Regions from separate parts of the Homo sapiens genome. Here region 1 is linked to region 2. The links are contacts of gene promoters, found by promoter capture Hi-C in blood cells and fetal thymus (Javierre and others, 2016). All regions are on one chromosome and are shown on one strand. The core of a region is centred on a gene start or on the middle of the fragment in contact, and the rest is flanking DNA. Distances in the headings are between cores, read along the strand shown. Region 1 has its middle 13 kb from the start of OR52K2. Region 2 holds the start of OR52K1 (olfactory receptor family 52 subfamily K member 1).

Evidence for each region. Contacts are between HindIII fragments. The CHiCAGO score rates a contact against its expected background, and 5 or more counts as called.
Region 1: a fragment that was not itself captured here is called in contact with the fragment with the promoter of OR52K1 in region 2 in 2 of 17 cell types (monocytes and M2 macrophages); the score reaches 6.5 in monocytes.

What each region holds. Positions count from the first base shown.
Region 1 is chr11:4,433,520-4,439,534 of GRCh38, reverse strand. No RefSeq gene overlaps it. Among named protein-coding and RNA genes, the nearest start is that of OR52K2, 13 kb to the left of the region's middle. The HindIII fragment of the contact is 1,100 bases long and covers 3,742-4,841 here.
Region 2 is chr11:4,478,832-4,484,527 of GRCh38, reverse strand. OR52K1 (olfactory receptor family 52 subfamily K member 1) reads right to left here and starts at 1,882. Exons shown (of 2, transcript NM_001005171.3): 1 at 1,352-1,882. The HindIII fragment of the contact is 19,878 bases long and covers 1-5,696 here.

The sequences.
Region 1 (6,015 bases), core at 3,042-5,541, 47 kb after region 2:
AAAGACTTAAATATTAGACCTAAAACCATAAAAACCCTAGAAGAAAACTTAGGCAATACCATTCAGGACATAGGCAGGGGCAAGGACTTCATGACTAAAACACCAAAAGCAATGGCAATTATTTGCTTTTCTAACATCTATTCTTATCTCATATACATGTCCAACTTTACAGGAGCAAAACAGAACTCTGCTTCCTCTCTCCCTCCACACCTGTAAACCTACTTTTCTCTTCGTGTTTCCTGTGCATTGAAGCCCTTCCCTTTACTCAACTTCTCAGATTGGAGCCTTCCTTGAAGCCCATCATATTCTCATAACCCCACATTGAATCAATCTACCAACAAATTCTATCAACTGGACCTTCAAAGTATATCCCAAGTGTAATCACTTCTCATTGCCTCCCTGCTGCCACTCTGGTCTAAGGCAAAATCATTTCCTGTGTTGGCTATAACAATAACTTTTGTAACAATAACGACTCTTTTATCCTTGTCCCTTACATCGAACCCGGTGCAGGTATTTTAAAGTTTAAGTCACAGTATAACAGAACCCTGTTCAAAAGCTTCTAATAGCTTTCCACCACAGATCAAACAAAATTCAGTCTTCACCATGGTTTACAAATACCTTTTTGGTCTCTGGACCTTTGCTACCTCTCCTACCATCTCCTCCTAGTCACTCCAGTCCAGCAACTGGTGGCCTTATACTGTCCCTCAAATTCACCAAACACATTCCAGAAATCAAGGCCTGTATGTCTGTTCCTTTCGCCTGGAGCACTGTCTTCCATACAGCTGCATGCCTTGTTCACTTGTTTCATCAAGATTTCTACCAAATGTCACCTTCTCAGAAAGACCTATCATGACCACCCTATCTAAAATTGTGTCCCATGTCATTTTTCTGTCTTATTATCCTGTTTTTACCCACGGCACTTTAAAAATTTATTTTTCATTAACAAATTGTATATAATTATCATGTACAACATGGAGTTTTTAAATGTGTATACATTGTGGAACAGCTAAATCAAGCAAATTAACATATTACCTCACATACTTTTCCATCTTTGTGGTGAGAACAGTTAAAATCTACTCTCTTCATAAGTTTCAAGAATATAATACATTGTTATTAACTGTAGTTCCCATCTTATACAATAGGTCTCTTAAATTTATTTCTTTTAACTGAAATTTTGTCTCCTCCAACCAACATTTCCTCAATCCTGACACCCCCACACCCTGGGAACTACCATTCTACTTTCTCTACTTCTGTGTTCAACTTTTTTAGATTCCACATCTAAGTAAGATCATGCAATATTTGGCTTTTTCTGCCTGACTTATTTCACTTCACATAATGAACTCCAGATTTATATATGTTCTCAAATGACAGAATTTCCTCCTTTTTTAATGCAGAATAGTATTCCACTGTGTGTGTGTGTGTGTGTGTGTGCGCGCACCACATTTTCTTTATCCATTCATCCATCGATGGACACTTAGACTGATTCCATATCTTGGCTATTACGAGTACTGCTGCAGTGAACATTGGAGTATAGATATCTCTTCAACATATTCCTTCAGATATATATCCAGTACTGGGATTGCTAGATCATATGATAGTTCTATTTTTAAGTTTTGGTAGTTCTATGTTTAATTTTTTGAGGAAACTTCATACCATGTGCCATGATGGCTATACTAATTTACATTCCTGCCAACCATGTGCAATTTCTCTATACCATCTCCAATGCTTGTTATCTTACAACATTTTAATAATAGCCATTCTAACTTCATAGCACTTTAATGCTGTAGTGAACATCAGTGTGGATATCTCTTTAACATTGTTTTAGACATCCAGACACCCAGTTCTGGAGTTGCTGGATCATACAGGTAGTTCTATTTTTAACTTTTTGAGGAAGCTTTATACTATTTCCCATAAAGGCTGTACTGCTTTACATTCCTACCAACCATGGGCAAGGATTCTCTTTTCTTCATATTCTCTCCAACACTTATCTTTCATCATGTTGATAATAGCCATTCTAATTTCATGGAACTTATCAATATCTATTTGTCATGTATTGATTTTTTAATGCAAATGTCTCCTATTAGCATAGACGTTCCATGAAACAAGAACTTTGTCTTCCTTGTTCAATATGGCATTCCTAGTAGTACGTAGAGAAATACTGACACATAGTGGGTGCTCAATAATATTGTATAGAATAGTTGTTGTTGGCTGAATAAAATGTGCCCCCATAGTATCCTAAGTTAATGCTAAACGTCTATGACTGTCCCTGAGACCCATAAAAATAATGGAGAGCTGAGGCTTGGCTCTGATCATTGTGGAGCTGGCAGAAAATTTAAATCATTTCATGTATCTGTTTTGCCACTTTAGAATCAGTCGAGTCCCTGAAGAACCAAATGGGAGAATGACCAAAACTCGGGATCCCCAAAACTTTTCATATTTGAAGTGTCATTTCTCTGTGAGCTCCCAGGGAACCTATATGTTTGGAGAATAAAGCCTGCACCTTCCTCTTCATCATCTGGGCCAAGTCATTCCCCACTAGGTCTTCCCTTCACCATCTGCATTTAAAGCTTCTTAAAAGCAGGAATATTTCCAAACCTTTATATCTCCAGGACAATAGCAGAAACATAAGCCGTCAATGTGTGTTTGTTGACTTATTGTCCGAAATCAAGTTTCATATCTGCCCAGACTACATTTGATTAGAATCCAATCTGTTCTTTTGACAGCCTTCCCCCAGTACCTAACATCATCACAATCTTCTTTTAAATGCCAACAGAGAGAGAGATTCATCCTGGTCTCTGCCTTCACAAAGTCTAGCATGTAGGAATCTACTGATGATTTACCAGGTTCTAGGCACTTTACTAAAAATTGTATATGTGCTATCTCATTTCAGTCTTCCCCATTTTTGAAAATGGGGAACAAGAGGCTGAGAGTTGTTACTTAACTTACCTAAGGTCATGCCAACAGTATTTAGAGTGAACTCTATCCCATGAATGGCATTTGATGAGATGCTGCATGGGCAATAGAGAGAAAGGACACACACAGCGTGTCAGAAAAGAATCATGAAAACATTGGCTTTGAATTAGGCTTCAGTGGTCCCCAGAAAATGCCCAATGTCCCTTGCCTTCCAGGTTTTACACGTGCTGTGTCCCCTTCCTGGTGTATTCCTCCCTTCAGACCCACTTTATCTTTCTAAACCCTAAATCCTTGACTAATTCTTAATAGTGAATCCCTCCCCTGCCAAAAGAGCCTCTGTCTGTTTTTTAAAGTCTGCATATGTCCCATTGAATTTTAATTGATTTTAATGTCTGTCCATCCTCCAATCCAGACTGTGACCTCCTTGAGAACAGGGGCATGATCCTTCAACCCTATGCCTTAAAATCTAGCATAATCCTTCACATATAACAGATGCTCAGTAAGTGATCGTTACATTTGATAAAATAAGATAAACACTTTTTATTGAGGGCTTAGCAGATACCAGGCAAAATGATAAATGTTTTGTATGTATAATCTAATTTGATCTTCACTGCTTCCCTACTTTATATATGAAGAATTAGTGTTCAAAAAAAATTGTTTTTCCTAAATAAACACCAAGAAGCAAATATTTTATCAGCAGTGTCCAATATTTTGGCTGGGCCACACTGGAAGTTGTCTTAGGCCACAAATAAAATACACTAACACTAATGATAGCTGATGAACTAAAAAAAAAGTCACAAAAAAATTTCATAATGTTTTAAGAAAGCTTACAAATTCGTGTTGGTCTGCAGGTTGGACAAGCTGGTTTTAGAAGGAGGGAGGGGGCCAGGAGAAAAAAACAAAATTGGTAAAACATTCTAAAATATGTTTCTATGCCAAAAAAACCTTTAAGACTATTTATGCTCAAGGACCTTTCCAACTACCCCACCTACCCACACGGAACTCTCAGGATAGATCTCTGCTATCCTATCCTTCCCTCTCCCATCAGGGCCTGTATTTCCAGCTTTCAATTTGCTGCCTCTTTCCAGCATCCCAGGGGTCTTTTTAGCATCTTTATCCTCCAGAGAATTGCTACCCTCATGTAGGATGCTAATAAGAGGACAAATACCCCAGCTCTTTTGCTTCCCACACTCTAACCCCTGTAGGACCAGATTCCACTATCACAACCTGCCTCAGACCTGGTAAGTTTGTCTCTCTGTCTGTTTGGTCTTCTCAGTGTGCCTATTATATGGTTGAACAAAGATAGGACTGCCACTAAGGTAATTTTTTCACTGAGGTTGTCCTCTACTTCAGATTAAAAGGACTTACAAATGAATCACACTTTTGACCACTGTTTTGTGGCCATGTACTTTAATTGGCTCTTCAGATAACTGTCTCCCCTAGTAATCGCCATAGTAGCCTATGAAGTAGGAATCAACCTCTCCAGGTTACACGGATAGGGAAACAGTTTGAGAGAGTTTAGGTGGCTTGACTGAGATCACACAGCTGGTGAGTTGTAAAGCTGGGATTTGAATCTGGCTGCCCTTGGACATCCATGAGTGAGTGCTAAATTCTAGGTTGGTCACTTCCAGATGCTCATGAGCACCTACAGGATAAAGAACTTGCTCCTTTCCTTGTGAGACAGCCTTGTTCCTGGCATTTGAACTCCTATTCTTATATATTTTAGGTAAGGCCTTTCTTATACCAAGTGCTAAAATAAATAAGAACAAAGCAGGGGAATGAGGGGCATGAAGGAGAGCTATTATTATGGAGAGCTATCTGGAGGAGGCTGGGAGTCTTCCTTGCCTGATCTCAGTAGGCAGATGAGTCAGAGGAAAATAACACTAGAGTATAGGCATAAAAGGGTTCATGGCAGAGAGTAGAAAGCTTTAAGAGTCTCTAGACATTCACCATGGAGAGGGCTCTGCAGCCATGCCACCTACTCCCAGCCTATACATCACTGAATCAGACTAAAGTGGCAAAGGTTCCTTTGAACATGGTGATGATAACCCATCTTCTGCCTTGCATACTTTCCCAGTGCCCTAAAATCTCATCCTGAGTGTTTTTCATGAGGTCTAACCTCAAATATTAGTAGGAAAGTCAAAAAGTGAAGACCTCCAAGGCTCTCACCTCAACCTTGACCTCTTTCCTAAAATTCAGGAATATTATACTCAACATATGCTCTTCCAACTTCATTTTCCCCATCTGTGCAAAGTGGGTGAGACAAGGGGAAATTGTGATCATTATGCTGTGTAGTTCCAGATCAAGGGTGGAGCAAAAGTTTTTTGAGTAGCAGTTTAAGGCCTGAGAAAATCTGATTCAATTATTAAAAGACTGAGATGGAAGAAGAAAAGAAGGGAGGGAAAGAAAGTAGGGCTGTCTCATTCATGACTGGATTATTCAGCTCTCAATTTTCTCCACAAAGGGTACTGAAGCAGGGACACTCCAAAAACAATGTCTTACATAAATGTATGTCCCTGTGTCTTCTGAGTACAGGCTTGCTCATGCATCTTGCACAATAACGTATATAGATACACACAATCACATGCCCAGCCAAACACTGCATTCTCATCAAATGGAACAGTTTTACATGCATCATTTCACAAGGTTCTTCACACTCTGATTTCTCTATCCCAGACCTTTCAGCTACCATGAAGGCTAAAATCTCTTCTAGGCTTGCTTGGGCCCCGGCTGGATGGTGGAAATTCAGGGAGATATCATAGAAGAGAAAAACAGGAAATACATGAAGGCATGATAAGACAGAAAGGAACAAGATGATTTGCTCAATATGAGAGTGACAGCCACGGTTGACACTGGGATGGAAAGGAGGCATCCTGGACCACAGTTCTTTCCTGCAGATCACATTAGAAGACCTTACCCTCCTCCTTCCTGCTCCTACATCTTTCCCCAAAGCAGTTTCCTATGATCTCTGGGTATGGGTAGCTGATACTAAGGATTGCAAGGAGCAGTGCATTTTAAGATTAGGAATACAGATGAGCAACACTATAGGGAACAATTGGGTCCACTATCTCTGTTTCAATTAGCAGTTGGAGCACAGTCACA
Region 2 (5,696 bases), core at 633-3,132:
CTACTTCTCTTCTTGTGCTGCCCATATCTCAGAACGTAACATCCTGCCCAACCAGTTGCTCAACCTAGAATCAAGTCATCCTGGATTCTTCTCTTTTCTTCCTGCATCATATTTAATCATCAGCAAGCACACTGGATCATCCTACATAGTAAATCTCCACGTTGCCCATTGCGTTTCCAACACTTCCACCCTTCCAACACCATCACCCTTGTTCAAGCCACAGCATCTCCCAGCAACTACTGCTACAAAAGAATCCTAACAAGTACACAAAGTTCCACTTTGTTCTCCAATATTTATCCTTCAACAATTACCCACCATATCATGAAGTGAAGGGACTGGAGTTAAGAAACTCTACCTATTTTCCTTCTGTAAACCCAGCCTCTAACATACATAGGTGTGGAACATTTCACTAAATAAAACAGACTACTAGATTATTGGAAGACATATTTCTCAGAATACTACTCCCCTCATGTGATTTAAGCTCAGAATTTGGGTTATCTTCTCATTTAAAATGCATCCAGAATGGAGGTTCTAAGCATCCCGATTACAATACTTTGTTACCTGCATCAGAATAAAATTCTCTTCTTAATGGAAAATACTATTTTAAATATTCATAATGTTTGTGCATTTTTGTCAGGAACAAGCTCTTATGACAACAGACATTTTTATTTTCAAGTACATATCAGTACCTAGAAACATGCCTGGCGTCTAAGAAACTCTTCTAAAATACTGTGAAATAATCCCACAAACCTGCTGCATCTTTACCTTATCTCAATATGTATTTTCCACAAAACCCACATGTTTTACTTTGAGTCTCCATGTCCCCCTAGATTCCTCCATTCAACTTTTAAACATCACTAACCACCCTGTGAGCTGTCTACCCATCTTCATACAAGAAAAAAAGGCATCTCTTCTATCAGATTTCTTCCTGAAAAGACAGGGTGTCTAATAGTTCATAAATCTTACTTCCTTTGAAGTTCATCTAAAATCAACTCCTCAGAATGAAGTGCTCTGAGTAGGAGTGTGAATGGAGCCAGTCTTCTTCCCCTAATATCCAGAAACTAAGACCTCCTCTGTAGTGCAAGTTTTGTCCAGACTGTTCATTGTTTTCAGAACTAAGATGTCCATGCTCAAAGGATTTATCTTCTATTTCTCCTTAAAAAAGGCCTCTGTACCCAGAATGGACTCAATTAATACTGAATCTATTTGGTTGCCTATACCTTTATCTTAAAAGGATATCAGAATGACATATCTGAAAAACTTAGAACCAGACAAGGAAGGATAATCACATAATCAAGATACTTCAGGACTGCTTCTGGTAGAAGAACCTCAAAGATAAGGTATTTCTTACCTTTCCCTGCCATCTTTCTAGTTCAGGCCTCGTTTTCTTCCTCTTGACTAATGCAGAAGCCCTTTAACTGGGATGGGGCATTTGCCAGGGGTTAGAAAAAGCAATGACAGGAGGTGAGAAGTGACAGATCCAAACTGGAATAATCAACTAAGACTTCTTGGAGATGGCCCACAGTGTTTGGCATAGGACGGAAGCAGGCATCCTCTGTGGTGGGGAGAGCATCTGGAGTTTGTGTACCAAACAGTTGGGTGGGACTATCGAGACTTCTGTTCCCTCTATTGAAGGACCAGAGTAGAAGCAATAACAGGGTTGGAGAGCTGATGCCTAAGATCAGGAATGGCTATGGGAAGAAATTGACAGTGCCCCCACCTTCCAGCTCACTCCCACCTTCCTGCTCACCCCAATAACATCACTTGTTTTCTATTTCCCTAAGTTGCAGCTGTATCCACAGTCCTCAGTCTGACTTACAATCCTGGGCCCTTTTCATTAGCTTCATGCAGCACCAGTGCCGCCTTCCTCTTTCAGTCTAAGGAGTCTTAGAAGGAGGAAGCTGGGAAGCGAGCAGCTGGCTTTAATCCTCACCAACCTCTGCCCTTCTCCCAGAAGGCTGTGGAAGCAGAAACTGCTGCACTTGAGCAGAGTCCTCAGAGACATCTCTGGCCTCCTCTCTCTGGGTTGATGCAAGGGGACTTCCCCTGACCCAAGGGGACTGTATCCTTGTTTCCTACAACCCATGCCTCCTCCCCAGCTAGTGGCACTGAGTTGTGCCTACCAGGGGTCATGCCCTACTTGCCAGAGGCTGTGAGACTTTCAGGTGGAGCTGGCTTGTGTCTTGGTGTTTGCTGTGCCTCTCCTTACTCTTTATCCTTACAGTGTCTTCAAAGAAAGCCAGCCTCATCAGAAAATATACACTGCAGGCAACTCCTGTCAGAACTGACTTGAAAGGGCAGGGAGTCCAGCCTGACCAGGCCAAGGTCATCCATTAGGCATTTTATTTTGCATTCATATTTCATATTGGCCTGAGATATGCATTAATAACCAGCTCGTGAACTTGATCTGGCACCTGTCTGATCCCTGATCTATTTTTCTTATCTCTAAGGTAGAGATAACTTTTACAATATTTTCTAACTCACAAGGATAGGAGGATCTAAGTAGATAAACAAGAGGCCACTATGAATGTGATTCCTTATTAATAATTAGGAAATTACCAATCATCTATAAATGATAAAGAGTGATCTTTCTACCTACAGCTGACTTAATGTGTGCTATTTTTCAAGGACCTGAGAAGATGCTTTTCACTAGAGTTCTCCATGGATTTTGTCTACCCTAATTCCCCATAATTTTTAAAAGCAATCTCAGAACGCTGTAACTCAGTCATCTCACTCCCTTCCCACACAGGTACCCTGGAACTAACTTCCCCTTCTGTAATAGTTGGCCCTCAAGGGTGTGGACTCAGCACTCCTCCATGATAAGTCTGATCTTTTGGGATGCTGGGATAAAGTGGAATTCCTACATAGTTTTAACAATGTACAGCTAGGCCAAGGGGATACAGCCTGTATGAAAAGCACCTCACCAAAACCTAATATGGCAAAAGCCAGATAAAAGCCAGACAAGAGCCAGATAGAATAGACAGTGTTTTTGTGAACAAAGCACCTTAATTTGCCCCCAACTCCATTCTGAATGGGCAATCCTGACATCATAGGAGCAGGATAAGAAGCACATGGAGTGGGGGAGTGGGCAGTGGGGCCATTGGCTCAAACCATGCTGGAGATAACTGCTGGAATATTGGAACACTTAGACTGTTTAATTCATTGACATCCTCCCCACCCTATCTTTTCTTTTGTAAAATCTAGATTCTTTTACATTCATATGCATCTTTGTTTTGGTGTTCTTCATTCCCTCCAGGTTTTTCATGTTTCCATCTGGATCATTTTTTTTCTGCATGAAAAACTACTTTTATTTTTGCTTTTATTACAGGCCATATAGTGACACATTCCATCAACTTTTGCTCATTTGTAAAATTATCTTAGTCATCTTTGTTTGTGAAAGATGACTCACCTCCCGGGCCTCTGTCTAAAATTCTATTTCAATTTGAATAGGTTTTTAAATGGGCAATTCTTCTTTCATCCACTTTAGTATATTAATTGTATTCTGCCTTCACTTGCTTTTTTTGAAGTCAAGTATCTATTAATATCAGTCTTATTGTTGATCCTGTGAATATAATGTGCCCTACCCATACCTGGGTGCTGCTTTCTTTTTTTTTTTTTCCAGTTAGCTGTGATCACACAGAACATTGTAGGCCTTTGTATCAGTCTGTTCTCACACTGCTATGAAGAACTACCTGAGACTGGGTACTTTTATGGAGAAAAGAGGTTTGACTGACTCACAGTTCCTGCAGGCTGTACAGAAGCATGGCTGGGAGGCCTCAGGAAACTTAGTCATGGCAGAAGATGAAGGGGAAGCAAGCAGGTCTTACCACAGCGGAGCAGGAAAAAGGGAATGGGGGCGGGGCCATACGCTTTTAAACAGAACATCAAGGGGGAAATCTGCCCCCATGATCCTATCACCTCTCACCAGGTCCCCTCTTCTGACATGTGGGGATTACAATTCGAGAGGAGATTTGGGTGTGGACACAGAGCCAAACCATATCAGCCATGTAAGGATTTCACTTTGCAAAGGTTCATAATTTCTCTCGGAATAAAAGCCAAGGTTGAGCAGTGAATTGACATTATTTGACATATGTTTTTTAGATATTGCTTCTGACTTAATGGGAACAGCACAAGATGATGAGGATGAAAGCAGAGAAAGGATTACAGATGCTATTGTAGGCATCCAGAGAGAAGATGGTGTTTCCAAATCAATGTGTTAATCATATATATGGAGAGAAATCAGATGTATCAGATTTTATATCTATTTTTTAAGTGCCAGTGGGAATTCCTGAAAAATTAGCTCCAGGCTGTGAGAGAAAAAGAAATCAAAGATAACACCAAGACTCCTTGCTTGAGGAACACGTAGGTGGGAAGGTGTTGTGAGGGTTGCTAGGCAGAACAGGATCCTATACTCAAGCATTGATCCTACTTTAAGGATGATGTGCACCTCTGTGTCCTAGCTTGGAATGTTGGGATGACCTAGTTTTTGAGTGATTAGAAGTATTGCATCTAGGCCTAGATAACTGCATCAAGTTTCCTTTATCCTAATCTATATACCCATCTATATGGGTATAAAATTATATGTGCCTGTAGGCTACTCATATTTCTTATTCATGTTTTGATTGTGTGCTAAACTCAAATGAGCTCATAGAGAAGGTAATTTTCCTTTTACTATTTGTGACTAATCCTGGCTGTGCTAATGTTATGTTGATATATTACCTGTCTATGGGATCCTTATACTACTGGACTTGTTCTGGGAACAAAATTATTTCTTCACTGGGGATAGATATGACCTTAAGGATGATGTTATTCCCCGTATAAGTCAATGGGAAAATAAGATTTCTCTTGTTGGAAATACCTTTTAAAATTCATGCTCTTTTCCATGTTTGTTTATATGTGGTTACAACTTAGTGTTTATTTTTTAGCTGCCCACCTGCCCCAACTATTCTCAGACAAAATAATCAAGAGGTGTTGACTACATGAGGCATTTGTCTTTGTGTCTGAGGGATTCATGGGAGCAGTGATGGAATATAAGGGGAAGCAAGAGTGTAGGTTCTTGCAATACTCTTGTCTCCTGCACAGCTTCCAACCTTCTACACCACACCTGACAAATGCTTGGAGATTGTTTCAAAGATAACTAATATAGAGAGAGATAGAGATGCTTCCTAAACAGTAGTCTCTGAGGAAACAATGAAAGGGGTCACAAAAAATGAAGTACAAGAATGCATTTGTGGAAGATGATGTATGAAAATATACTCATTTTCTAGGCTGTAATAACAAAATACCACAGACTGGATGGTCTCAATACAGAAACCTATTTTCTCAATTCTGGAAGCTAGATGTTCAAGTTAAGGTGTGGCAAGGTTGATTCCTTTTGAGGCCTCTCTCCTTGGCTTGGACATTATCTTCTCCTTGTGTCTTTTCTTATATGGACACCTGTTGTATTAGATTGAGTGCCATCCTAATAACTTCATTTTAACTTAATTAACCTCTTTGAAGACCTTATCTCCAAATACAGTCATATTACTCTGAGATACTAGGGTTTAGGACTTCAACATATGAGTTTACTGAAAGGAGACACAATTCAGCTCATAACACCCTGCCTTCTGGCTCCCTAAAGTCTAGTCCTTCCCACATGCAAAATACAAGCATCCCCAATTCCAGGGGTTAACTGTAAATACAAAATCTCATCTAAA